Linked DNA regions of Homo sapiens: all the other regions are linked to region 1. Evidence: promoter capture Hi-C in 16 types of primary human blood cells and fetal thymus (Javierre and others, 2016). All regions are on one chromosome and are shown on one strand. The core of a region is centred on a gene start or on the middle of the fragment in contact, and the rest is flanking DNA. Distances in the headings are between cores, read along the strand shown.

The links. The method cuts DNA at HindIII sites, captures the fragments that hold promoters and counts their contacts. A CHiCAGO score of 5 or more calls a contact.
Region 2: a fragment that was not itself captured here is called in contact with the fragment with the promoter of SNX18 in region 1 in 1 of 17 cell types (fetal thymus); the score reaches 5.1 in fetal thymus.
Region 3: a fragment that was not itself captured here is called in contact with the fragment with the promoter of SNX18 in region 1 in 6 of 17 cell types (naive B cells, fetal thymus, total CD4 T cells and 3 more); the score reaches 7.9 in naive B cells.

What each region holds. Positions count from the first base shown.
Region 1 is chr5:54,516,054-54,520,505 of GRCh38, forward strand. It overlaps SNX18 (sorting nexin 18), which reads left to right and starts at 1,706. Exons shown (of 2, transcript NM_001102575.2): 1 at 1,706-3,520. The coding sequence starts at 1,900. RefSeq lists silencers at 1,460-1,701, 1,582-2,141 and an enhancer at 2,614-3,558. The HindIII fragment of the contact is 5,643 bases long and covers 545-4,452 here.
Region 2 is chr5:55,092,138-55,096,250 of GRCh38, forward strand. It overlaps the pseudogene GZMAP1. Among named protein-coding and RNA genes, the nearest start is that of GZMA, 8.5 kb to the right of the region's middle. The HindIII fragment of the contact is 202 bases long and covers 1,610-1,811 here.
Region 3 is chr5:55,125,841-55,130,373 of GRCh38, forward strand. It overlaps CDC20B (cell division cycle 20B), which reads right to left. Exons shown (of 12, transcript NM_001170402.1): 7 at 2,581-2,777; 8 at 1,417-1,511. Among named protein-coding and RNA genes, the nearest start is that of GZMA, 25 kb to the left of the region's middle. The HindIII fragment of the contact is 5,522 bases long and covers 1-4,262 here.

The DNA.
Region 1 (4,452 bases), core at 456-2,955:
TTCACACCTGAAATAAGCCCAAAGTTACTGTACTTAACTCTAATCTAAAAAGTAACTACTAAACGAACAGAAGGGGCGAAACTAAATTTATTTATCTTACATATTCTAGGTTAGCTTTTCAGAAGTAAAATGAGTCATATTCTAGAGGTTTAGTTAATGTGGACTTCATGTTTCTGACCACATGAAATGTTGGCATTGAAATTCAATGATCCCTGTTGCTTACTGTGAGAATAGTCAAAACCCAGAATTTTCAGCTAAAAATGTAATTTAGAATATGCTTACTGAATTGAATTAAGGTTTTGCATTAGGATAAACACTGTGGGAGTGATTCTGGTATAGTGGGTTTGTGTTTTTGTGCAAGATGCTTACAATACCACAGCCCTTAGAATAATTGTACACTCTTCTGGCCCGTTTCCCAGGTTTCCTTGAAAAGGGTCAGAGGACAGGCTGAAATTAATGACACATGAATGCAGAACCTCAATTAGAAGTGTCTTCAAAGGAATAATTAGGCTAGACTTAATAAGAGGGGATTAAGAGAAGAAAAAGCTTTGGGCAAATTATACACTGAAGGAAAGGAAGATAGGAAACAAGGCAACGATAGATTGGAGCTGATTATTTCAGGAAGTGATTTTTGTTCTATTTATCTTAAAAATAATATAAATATAGTGAGACATAGAGACAACAGATGGATGGATGGTCACTGACCTCTTACTAGGAGTGGCAATGTGAACATTGGGACGCTTCCTGGTGCATGTACCCTGCAATTGTTAGTTTAGTACCCCTATTCCCTTTGTGAAAGAGGCCAGGGATTTTGCTTCCCCCAAATAACAGTAACAGCAGCAAAAGCAGCAACAAACCCTTCAAATCTGCTTACCCTGCCAGATATTGTTTCACTTTCCTCATCTGTAAAATAGGGATTACTTTATGATGGAATCCCCACAACAACCCCCGGAGGTAGGTACGATATAAGTGCCTTGTTCCAGGTCATACAGCTAGGTAGTGTCAGAACACAGATTGAAATTCAGAAGCCTGGCTCCGAAGTTTGAGCTCTCATTCACCGCACTACATATATCTATGGGAGGATAGGCGACACATGCATGTAATAAATGTGTGAGCATTTATTGTACTGGAAACTCTCCAGCTCCTCCCTCTCTACATGATCCTTTGCTTCTAATTTTGTCAATCACAGCACCTTCCCTGGCCCTTACTTTGTTCTTGCCAATCTCCTCTCCTTGAGCAGAAGAGGGAAGGGAGCCTGCTCTGTAGGTGAACAGCTCCTCCGCAGAGGCATCCTGTTTTCTTAGTGCAATCACTAATTCGCATTGCAAAATGCTTTATTACATGACTGGGTTGCCATTCTAGGAGCATTCACTGAGCGCTCAGAGTGGGAACGTTTATCAGGCATGCAAATGCTAACTTACTTTCTAGAGAATGTTTAACTTAAAAGCCTAAAGAAATCTCAGATAATTCACTTCGGAGTAGAAACCTCCTTCAGCCGCGCTCACTACGGCGCCCGGCTTCGCGGCACCGGCCACTAGAGGGCAGTGGCCGCCGCAAAGCCGACGCGGGCGGTGGGCTCGGCGGCTCGGCCATCGCTTGCTCTCGCCTGGCAAGGGGCTCTCGGCCGTGGATTAGCGCAGCTGGAGACGTGGGAGGCCGCGGGCCCCGCCCCCGACCGGCGGCGGCTGCGGCGGCCCAGCGCGGCAGTCGGCGCTGCGAAGTGGAGGCGCTGCGAGCGGAGCCGCGCGGAGGGCGCGACCGGCTGGTCCGGGCAGCGTGGGTTTGCCGCCTTCGGGGCTCCAGTCCGCGCGCCAGGGCTCGAGCAGTACCGCGGGCCCCTCAGGTGGGCCTCGGCTCGGGACGCCGGGAGTCGGGACCGCCAGTCGGGGCGCCGGGACCATGGCGCTGCGCGCCCGGGCGCTGTACGACTTCAGGTCGGAGAACCCAGGAGAGATCTCGCTGCGAGAGCACGAGGTGCTGAGCCTGTGCAGCGAGCAGGACATCGAGGGCTGGCTCGAGGGGGTCAACAGCCGCGGCGACCGCGGCCTCTTCCCGGCCTCCTATGTGCAGGTGATCCGCGCCCCCGAGCCTGGCCCGGCGGGAGACGGCGGCCCGGGCGCCCCGGCCCGCTACGCCAATGTGCCCCCCGGGGGCTTCGAGCCCCTGCCTGTCGCGCCCCCCGCCTCCTTCAAGCCGCCGCCTGACGCCTTCCAGGCGCTGCTGCAGCCACAGCAGGCGCCGCCTCCGAGCACCTTCCAGCCGCCCGGCGCGGGCTTCCCGTACGGCGGGGGCGCCCTGCAGCCGTCGCCTCAGCAGCTCTACGGCGGCTACCAGGCCAGCCAAGGCAGCGATGATGACTGGGACGACGAGTGGGACGACAGCTCCACGGTGGCGGACGAGCCGGGCGCTCTGGGCAGCGGAGCATACCCGGACCTCGACGGCTCGTCTTCGGCGGGTGTGGGCGCAGCCGGCCGCTACCGCCTGTCCACGCGCTCCGACCTGTCCCTGGGTTCCCGCGGCGGCTCGGTCCCCCCGCAGCACCACCCGTCGGGGCCCAAGAGCTCGGCCACCGTGAGCCGCAACCTCAATCGCTTCTCCACCTTCGTCAAGTCCGGCGGGGAGGCCTTCGTGCTGGGGGAGGCGTCAGGCTTCGTGAAGGACGGGGACAAGCTGTGCGTGGTGCTGGGGCCCTATGGCCCCGAGTGGCAGGAGAACCCCTACCCGTTCCAGTGCACCATCGACGACCCCACCAAGCAGACCAAGTTCAAGGGCATGAAGAGCTACATCTCCTACAAGCTGGTGCCCACGCACACGCAGGTGCCGGTGCATCGGCGCTACAAGCACTTCGACTGGCTGTACGCGCGCCTGGCGGAGAAGTTCCCGGTCATCTCCGTGCCCCACCTGCCCGAGAAGCAGGCCACCGGCCGCTTCGAGGAGGACTTCATCTCTAAGCGCAGGAAGGGCCTGATCTGGTGGATGAACCACATGGCCAGCCACCCAGTGCTGGCGCAGTGCGACGTCTTCCAGCACTTCCTGACGTGCCCCAGCAGCACCGACGAGAAAGCCTGGAAGCAGGGCAAGAGGAAGGCCGAGAAGGACGAGATGGTGGGCGCCAACTTCTTCCTGACCCTTAGCACGCCCCCCGCCGCTGCCCTTGACCTGCAGGAGGTGGAGAGCAAGATCGACGGCTTCAAGTGCTTCACCAAGAAGATGGACGACAGCGCGCTGCAGCTCAACCACACGGCCAACGAGTTCGCGCGCAAGCAGGTGACCGGCTTCAAAAAGGAGTATCAGAAGGTGGGCCAGTCCTTCCGCGGCCTCAGCCAGGCCTTTGAGCTGGACCAGCAGGCCTTCTCGGTGGGCCTGAACCAGGCTATCGCCTTCACCGGAGATGCCTATGACGCCATTGGCGAGCTCTTCGCGGAGCAGCCCAGGCAGGACCTGGATCCCGTCATGGACCTATTAGCGCTGTATCAGGGGCATCTGGCTAACTTCCCGGACATCATCCACGTTCAGAAAGGTAAAGCCTGGCCCTTAGAGCAGGTGATATGGAGTGTATTGTGCAGGCTGAAAGGGGCGACTTTGACAGCAGTACCACTGTGGGTTTCAGAATCATATTCTACAGGTGAGGAAGCGAGCAGAGACGTGGACGCCTGGGTCTTTTCCCTAGAGTGTAAGTTGGATTGCTCGACAGGCAGCTTCCTCCTCGAGTATCTTGCATTAGGGAATGAGTACTCTTTCTCGAAGGTTCAAAGAGTACCTTTGATGACAGTGCTATCATTTTAGAGTTTGAATAGTTGAGTAATGAGCTGCTCAAATCTGTAATCTTGAGACGAGGGTAGAATTAGAAGGGGACCTAAACCATGTTAGGTATCTGTTTGAACACTGCACTGTCACTTAGTGGTGAGTTTCAAAAAGTGAGGAAATAATGGAGAAGAACGGATGTCTGTAAATAGAAATCTGCTTTCACCCTTCCACACCTCTCAATCTCTGCTTTGGTAGAGGAATTAAGATCAATTCTCTGAGTTTAAGAAATTCCTGCAAAGAATTCTTGCCTGCAACCTTTACGAAGTGAAGTAATTTCAGGAAAAGCGTACTCATTTTGAGTTTGAAATCTATTAATGTACTGAAATTGAGAACGTTGTTTAGGAAAATTGTTTAGGGAAACTACATAGAATGAATATAATCTGAGTATTGGATCTGAGAGCAGCGTTGCTGGTATCCCAGTGAGTTAGCTGTCCAACTATCAGAGTTCATGAGTTATTAATAGTTGTTAGTGTCTCTGACCTTTGCTAAAGCACCAGAATTTGCAAATTAAAAAAATATATAGCAGTAGTGCTTGTCTTAACATTTCTTACTAATGTGCATTCTCATATAATGCCTTGATTGAGAGAATGGGGAGGTGTGGGAGTTAGGGAGGCAGTCTTGCCTGTGAAAGTCCAGTGTAGGGGC
Region 2 (4,113 bases), core at 461-2,960, 580 kb after region 1:
GCTTTACTCCACAAATCCAAAGGAAGTGAAGAAATTGGCAGCTCCCCTTTCAGCAGGTGAATGGCAGAGCCCAGCTCCTCTACCCAGGCAGCCCCAGCTACCACTGGCCCAAGGGAAGCCCCGACTCCAGGTCCCAAGCAGATCTCTCCAGGCCTTTACAAGTCAGTGCTCTTGCCTCTGCCAAAACACCTGGGACTCCCTTTCCGTTGCTTCTTCCTTGAAAAGATGTGGTGAAGTTGAAGCAATGTATCATAACACACATCTTGGGAATTTAGGGTAACAGGTGCTAAAACACCAGAGGGAAAAAAAAGCTCCCTAAGTTCCTTCTGTCTTGCAGTGCTTGTTTATAAATCAGAAGGCATTTGAAAACACTGACCAGACTTGAGTAAATTAAGCCAATAGTTTAGTTTCATCCATTCTCTTACATAAGTTAGGTGGTGTTTCTTTCCAAGAGGGGCAAACTTCAAATTATTCTTGGGGCCCACTCTACATCCCATAAACAGAAACTTGACCAGAAAGTTTCCATTAAAAAGGCGATTTCCTATCCATGCTATGATCCACAGCCATTCATATGGTATCTTTAACTCCTTCAGATAAATATGTGGGGGGGGTTTGATAACTATTTTGAAATAGTAAAAGGTCAGTGCAACCTGAAACTTTTCCTATGTAATTTTTGTCTATATATAAGTAAACCTGCAGAAGTAGCAGGTTTACTTTCCCATGCTTTGGGAAACAGTGTGCCTTGCTGAAGTCTCCAAGGATGAGAAAAGTTGGCCAGAGTCAAGCTTTTAAATGTTGGAATGAAGAAATCAACCTTGATTTTATAGTGTAATCTTAAAGTAGGTTCTACATACACACATACACACACACAGACATACACACACGCGCGCGCACACACACACACACACACATGCACTTGTGCTAATGCACAGAGTGGGCTAATGCCTCAAGTCTGGGGGTAGGAAGTACAGCCAGGCCCAGTACTGCTACCACAGATGTCCCTTCCCCCTTGTGAATTCAGTTCGTCAACAGCTGTTCACAAAAGTCCCTCTTGGCAATCTACAGTGGTGATGCCCGTAAATCCAAGACCACTGGGAATTCACCTGAAGTCAAACAAATTTATGTTCATTGATGCTGGCTTAGCAAGGGAGACTGCTCACTATGTGAAACCATGGGCTGGCTCAGTAAGAGGGTGTTGGTTGGGGCTTTTCACAAGCTTGGAGCTTGTGTTGGGCAGTTTGGGGTAGGATTCAAGGAAGAATGAGTTTGCTGTGAATTGGGTGTTGTCAGCAAGTGGAATAATTCTGTGATTCAGTCTCTTAATAAACCTTAATTATCTAGGAGACAGAAAGAATGGAAAGACTCAAACATGATGCCAGAGAGGACTTGTTTTTTTCTCACTTTATTAGAATCACCTGGTCTGACACTGATGTTCCATGAGAGTGTTTATGAGTAGCCAGAAAATTTGAATGCTTAGCTGTTAGTGCCAGCCTGCCAGAAATCAGGACTTGCTCCCAGACAAATAAATCTCCAGCTCTGATCTAATGGTATTTTGTCCATCAGTTACAGAGATAACTAAGAAGAGGGCTCTATCTTGAGTACATGGGGAAGCTTCCTGGAGAAGGACAGAGTCAGCCAGGAGGAAGGGAGGGAGGGTCCTTACCAGCAGGAAGAAGAGTATGTACTGGAGGTGTCTTTCTGGACAATGCATTTGGAGGAATTGGGGAGAAAAGGGAGTTAACACAAGATTTGAGAAAGAGGGGTAGGCAGGACACAGACCACAAAGCCAGGCCTTGCAAACCTTGGTAAGAAGCTTGAGCTTTATGGGGAAGGAAATGGTAAAGTGTTTTGAGTAGGGTTGCAACATTATCACCCTTGTTGTTAAATGATCATTCTGGCTGCCATGCTGAAAGTGGAGTAGGGCAAAACAGGTCTGGAAGAAAGAGTGTAAACAGTTCACACTAGCCCTAAAGGGCTGATGATGATGGTCACCAGCAGGAGTTAGGAGGAAGCCTGACATTCTGGCATGGTAGCTCATGCCTATAATCCCAGCACTTTGGGAGGACAAGGCAGGAGGATCACTTAAGCCTACGAGCTCAGATCAGCCTGAGCAACATAGTGAGACTCCCATCTCTACAAAAAAATTTAAAAATTAGCCAGGCATGGTGGTGCATGCCTTTAGTCCCAGCTTCTCATGAGGCTGAGGTAGGACGATTGCTGGAGCCCAGGAGTTGGAGGCTGCAGTGAGCTGTGATGGTTCCACTGTACTGCATCCTGGATGAGCTGTGATCACACCATAACTCTTCAGCCTAGATGACAGAGTGAGGCCCTAATTCAAAAAAAGAAAAAAGAGAGACAGAGAGAAAGCCCAGGGGTTGGCCCACTCCCATCATTGGGAATAAAGAAAGGCCTTTAGGGTTCTGTGCACTTCTGGCAAAACCTCCATACTCCTTGCCCCCCACCACTTACAGCCTGATTCCAACAGGGCATCCTAGGCCCTGAAGGACACTCCCTTCCCTGCCCCTCAGAGGGCACTCCTTGGCCCACTCCCCTGCTACATTTTCCTCCATGGCATCTAACACACCCTGATATACTTTAGATGGTGTATGTCTGCCTGCCTCCCTCACTGGAACCTAAGCTCCACATAAGAGATACTTTTGTCTACTTACTTCTATGACCTCCAATACCTAGAACAACAGTATGTGATACATAATTAGGCCCTCGATAAATATTTCTTGAATAATTTTGAATAAGAGATGGAATTAAGCCAGACAGTGGCAAATGTAATCAAAAGCAGAGAAGGGATTCTAGACTCTGGTTTCAAGCAAGTGGTAGAAGTCAGGTCTCCTTCAGGACCTGAAAATCTTACCTTTAGAAAGGAATGAGGTGGGTACAGGAGGTGAGGGGCCCATGCTGTTAGAGCTGGGAAACTCCTTCCCACCTATGACACTATGGCCAATAGTGTGATGCTGCGAGGGAATCCACAAAGAAGGTGTCAAGACTTGACCAGGGATAGTTAACTCTCCAGGGCTAAAACCTAATTGTGCGGCCATGGTAGTCCTATGCAGTTGACCATAAGAGAGCTTGAATGGGGACTGCTCCTTACAAACATGTGCTTCCCAGACTCTGATACACTCATTAAGCCCCAAAGTCCCTTTTGAAGTCTCCCTCCTCCTTGTCCTCAGATAGCAAGCATGCAGGCTGTGAGGAAGCATGAGTGGGTGAGAAGTCGGAAAGTTGCACATGCACATTTCAAGTCCTGTTCTATAGAAAGGCTCTCATCTGTGGCCATTTCACCTCACAATGTTAGCAAGGTGGGGGGCAGGAGCTTCAGTAATCAGAAGGAGCACCGAGGAAGTGGGGACACTCTAATGTCAGGAAGCATCGCCTGAAAGCAATGCAATCATAGGAATGTGACCATTGCTGTGGTGCCGTTGTGTTTTTAGCAGTTCCACAATACCAGAAGCCCCTGCAATTTCAAACTCAGCTTAAGGCAAGAAAAAATAAAAGAACTAGAATCACCTCCCTCTACCCTCTACTCAACCTGAATCATACTCCATACTCTCCCTGCCTTGACTTTGTGGAAAAATAGAAATCAAGGTGGCGAGCAAAGAAGAGGACTTAGGGAATGAAAGAAAAGGCAAAGTATAGGTGAGCAACCGAAAGCAGGTGAAACCTGCAGGCTGGTTTGCTCATGCTCAAAAGTAGGGAAGACACATTTCTACCAAAATGGAAAATGAGGACACTGGTCCCTTTCCCACCCTGCCCCACTGCACCAGGATCCCGAGTTTTCTTCCACTGGTCACAGTACCAGTCAGTTCACGAATCTAAGACTGCCTGAATAAAAACGTTTGGATTCTCAGCACAGGTTTTCAACCACAGAACTGTCAGCCACCACCATATAATTTTATCACTGACAGGTCAACTGAACTGAAGCTTACTTAGACTAGCCTAGCAAAGCACTTCTGAAAAAAGTGTCCTGTAACTTTTTAAAAATCAATTACCGATTGTCAATACAGGTTGGCACATGTCTTAAGCCATGTCCCTCATAAGACTACAGAAGCAAGTATATATTTCAATCAGGGCTATTTTGTTGTTTTTGTTACTGTCATA
Region 3 (4,533 bases), core at 252-2,751, 610 kb after region 1:
ATTCCAACTCCATCACTTACTAACCATGTGACTTCAGGCTAGTGTCTTAGTTTAATTTGAAAAAACAAAATTGAGGATAAGAGACCACCTTATCATGTTACTGCAGTGATTAAAATGAAATTACACACATAAAAAGTATAGCACAGTGCCTGGCACAGAGTAGTCTGAAAATGTTAGCTGCTATTATTATAAGAAAGGATCTGCTCATTTTCCTCGTGGATAATGAAACTAAATTTTAACAATGCAGATTAGAAAAGGAGCTTGAGTACATAATTGACTGCAATAACTAAGTTGTTTTAAGACCGGCCAAAAACACAAGATATTCAAGTCTCAAGTTTACATCAGATTACTTAAATACATTTTAAAAGTCTTTGGGATGGCCAGGCGCGGTGGCTCACACCTGTAATCCCAGCACTTTGGCAGGCCGAGGCAGGTGGATCACAAGGTCAGGAGTTCAAGACCATCCTGGCCACCATAGTGAAACCCCATCTCTACTAAAAATACAAAAATTACCCAGGCATGGTGGTGGGCGCCTGTAGTCCCAGCTACTCGGGAGGTGGAGGTTGCAGTGAGCTGAGATCACGCCACTGAACTCCAGCCTAGGTGACAGAGTGAGATTCCATGTCAAAAAAAAAAAAAAAAAAAAACAGTCTTTGGGATTTATCTAACTTAAGTCTACCTTAACCTTAAGAACTACAATATGAAAATGAATGGCTATGATTAAAAGCAATATATATTTAGACCAGTTATGTAGGCTCATAGGAAAAAGTCCCTTAATTTTTCTGGTTAAAAAGAAGCAGTTAAACTAAATCACTAGTTCTCAAAGGGATGTATCATCAGCATCACTTGGGAAATGAGAAATGCCAATTATCAGCCCCTCAAGACCTAATGAATCTGAAGTCCCTCAAGTGAAGCCAGCAATCTGCATTTTGAGGAGCTCTCCAGGTGATTCTGATACATGTTCTAGTTTGAGAACTACTGAACAGGATAATCTATGAGGTTCCTTCTGCTCTAATTTCTGTGGGTCTATGAATTGGAAATGTGTCCCAGAGAGCTTAACATATTCCATAGTATAGATACTGACAGCAATAAATACTTGATTTCAGCAAAATATCCCTTTAGTACCTATTACTTAGCACAGAGAAACCTTTTGCTTGAAGGGATTTTCACATTTTATCTGAACAATTTAGTGCATCCCATGCAGAAGGCACACATGATACATGTGGCCACCAAGACACTTACATGACCAGCAGATCTGAATACCTGAGAGGGTGGGATCATACCTGATATTAAGTCCAATGGCCTATTTTGTTTTATTTTTGATTGGTTTAGGTTTTGAATATTACAACTGTTTACTCAGGCCCCATAATCAATTGTTAATACAAACATAACTGTCTCCAACAAGACGCTTCTTACCTGCTGAGGATAAAGTGATTCCAGCTCAGAGCCCCAACTACTGACAAATGACCAAGCATATTTCTCAGCCGCTTTTTAGTTACCACATCCCATAACTGAAAAAATGAACAAGGAGAGTTATGTAGCATTGGAGTTTTCACAGCCCACTGTCTTCTCAAAGGCCTGAGAGCCAATTACTGCTGATATTGTTAGTTTTTGTACTAAGTGAAAACCCAGCACATCTAGCCAGCAGTTCTCAATTCTGACTGTGTATTAGGATCAGCTGGGGAGTCTATAACACTATGGATGCTGATTTAGTTGGTAGAGTAGAGCCTGGGGATATATGGCAGTTGTTTTAAAGCTCCCCAGGTGAATTCAATGTGCAGCCAAGGGTTGAGAATTATTACCACATTTCTAGCTCCTTCTAAATTGTGAGAATTCCAAATCTGGAAATCTACCCACAGTTACCAACAAATGTATTAATAAGATGTGGGTACCCGGACACTTCCTAGAATCAGTAATTCCACTTACTGCTAAGAGACTCCCTTCCTGCGAGCTACAGATAATATTCTGATCCACATGGGGAATGACAACTTTGGTGTAAGAAGAAATCATGACATAGACTTCACAGCATTCATTATCATTGCAGAGATGAGAAAGCAGTGAGAGAGCCATCTGTGGCCCTCCTAAGTCATTTGCACATGAGTGATATTGTTTATTCTATTGGTAATAAACAATAATAATGATACATGAGAAATCAGATAGATTGATGGAAATTTGATAAATCCCCATCTCAAGGAGCCTATCAGAAAAAAAAATTCACTCATTTTCTATAACTGTACTCTTAATCACGGCTTCAGGTGAAAAGGAGAACTGAAAGTATCTTCCTCTCTCCAAAGCTCCAAAACTGGAGATTCTACAAGCCCAACTTTAGTTTCAGAGAAAATATATTTTTAAATATGACAGAAAGATTGTGGTGGAAACTAACCAGAGTATCCTTACGTTTTCATTAAAAACCATTCAGTAAAAAAAAAAAAAAAAAAGCGGAATGTCATCTCCTTTTATTCCCCATACTTCAAGAGCCACACCTAGTTTCTCTATTTTACATTAACTTGTTATTAAAAGTCAATTATAGTGTAATAATACACAGAGAACATGATGAGAAAAAAAAAAACTGGCCAGTACTTGCACTTCTCCCTCGCTGGTGCCAACTGCCAGGCAAGTTCCCTCTTTTATCCAGGACACAGAAGAGATATAGTTACAAGTGAGACTTAAGTCTATGTTTTCAATCCCATTGTGGTTCTCCCCATTCCAGATGTATACAGCAGAGCCCAGGGCTATGGCAACAAGATTCTGAAAACTCCAATCTAGGATATTCAGATCTATAAGAAAAGCACTTCAAATTAGTATAATTATACAGCCACATGAAAACATGTTCAAATAAACAACTTTATAGGTAGGGGGAAAAGAATAATACCATCCCCATGGTTAGCTGGAAAATGGAAACATGGAACCATGAAAATCCTTAAAAGTTCAAAAATGAAAAGTGGAATAGAATCTAGTGTCAACACTCACAGTCTAATAAGCAATAATGCTTATTATTTACACTGAAATATATTTATTTAGAGCCATTTAAAGAACTTGGCAGATTCATCTACCATTATTAGTACATGTAGACTTCGTTTAACGGATCAGTAAAAGTTAAAAGCATATAATTCTTATGGAGACACTCTTGGACCTAGGATATCTATATGGGAGATGCCACCATCATTTCTAACCAAAAACACCACCCAGCTAGAAGAGGTGGTGGTTCATGTATGATACCTACACGTTCTCAACAGTATTCTATAGCTTATACTAATAAGAAACCTTTGACTGCTAAGAGAAAACATATTTGTATGACCATTTATTAAAATATACCCTATCTTATTTCTTATCAGTCAGAAACTCCTGACTGACACGTATCAGTATAAAACTAAGTAGCACACCAGTTCCCCTACAGTAGTTTAAACCCCTACAATACATTCCGTCCCCATGATAAATATAAACTCTGAATGAAATATAAAAAACAAACACCTGGAGATCCTGTAAAGTAAGGAAAAGCAGTAAACTAAGTAAGGGAGTCAAAATTTGGAGAAGCAAACTGGCGGGGGGTAAGTTTCCCACTTTTCTTCTTTCACACCTTTGCCCTGAGGACAGGCCCCATTGATGGAGTGCCAGCGAAGACTCTGACAAAAAGGCCACCATATTTCTGGTCAGAGAAACCATGGAAAAGAGCCTGAGGCATAGAACTGATACCAGTATGAGGGAAAAGTCCTAGACATGGGAAAGCCAAAAGAAAGAGATCCTCTGAGTGTGAGTATATTAATTCACACACATCTCAGCCTTACCCCTAAATCACCTACATGCAGAAGAGACTCAAATCACCTTAGTAAAGGCTTTAAGAAACGAACTGAGATTTGAAACATCCATACAAGTCTCAGCCTAGGCTCTGATCCACATGTATGAGATACAGACCCAAACCAGCATGGTCAAAGTTTAAGAAACTGATCTAAGATTTGAAACACCACCCACAAATGGCAAGACAAAACTTAAAATGTGAACCTAACTAGAACAAAAACATCAACCAGAACAAAACATCAACATTCTCCACAGGACCCAGTGACTATAACATAACATCTACAATATCCAGACACAATTCAAAATTACTGGATAAATGTAAAGACAAAACATAACCAATAGATGAAAACTCCAAGGTGACCTAGGTATAGAAATTATCAAAGACTTTAAAGCAGCCATTATATTCTCCATGAAGTGAAGAAAAACACACATGAAATGAATGAAAATTTATATGAAACTTTATATGAAGCTTTAACAGATAAACAGAAAAATCAAAAGTATTTTCTAAGTAAAGAAAATAGAAACCATAAAACAAAGCTCTAAAATGGAAATCAAATATACAAAAACCACAAAATACAAACTTTAAAATGGAAAAATATAATATCTGAAAAATTCCTTGGATACACTGAATAGCAGGATAGAGGTGATAGAGGAAAGAGTAAACTTGAATATAGATAACAGAAATTATTCAATCTAAAGAATGTGGAGAAAAAATTTCTTAAAGAATGAAGCCTCAGC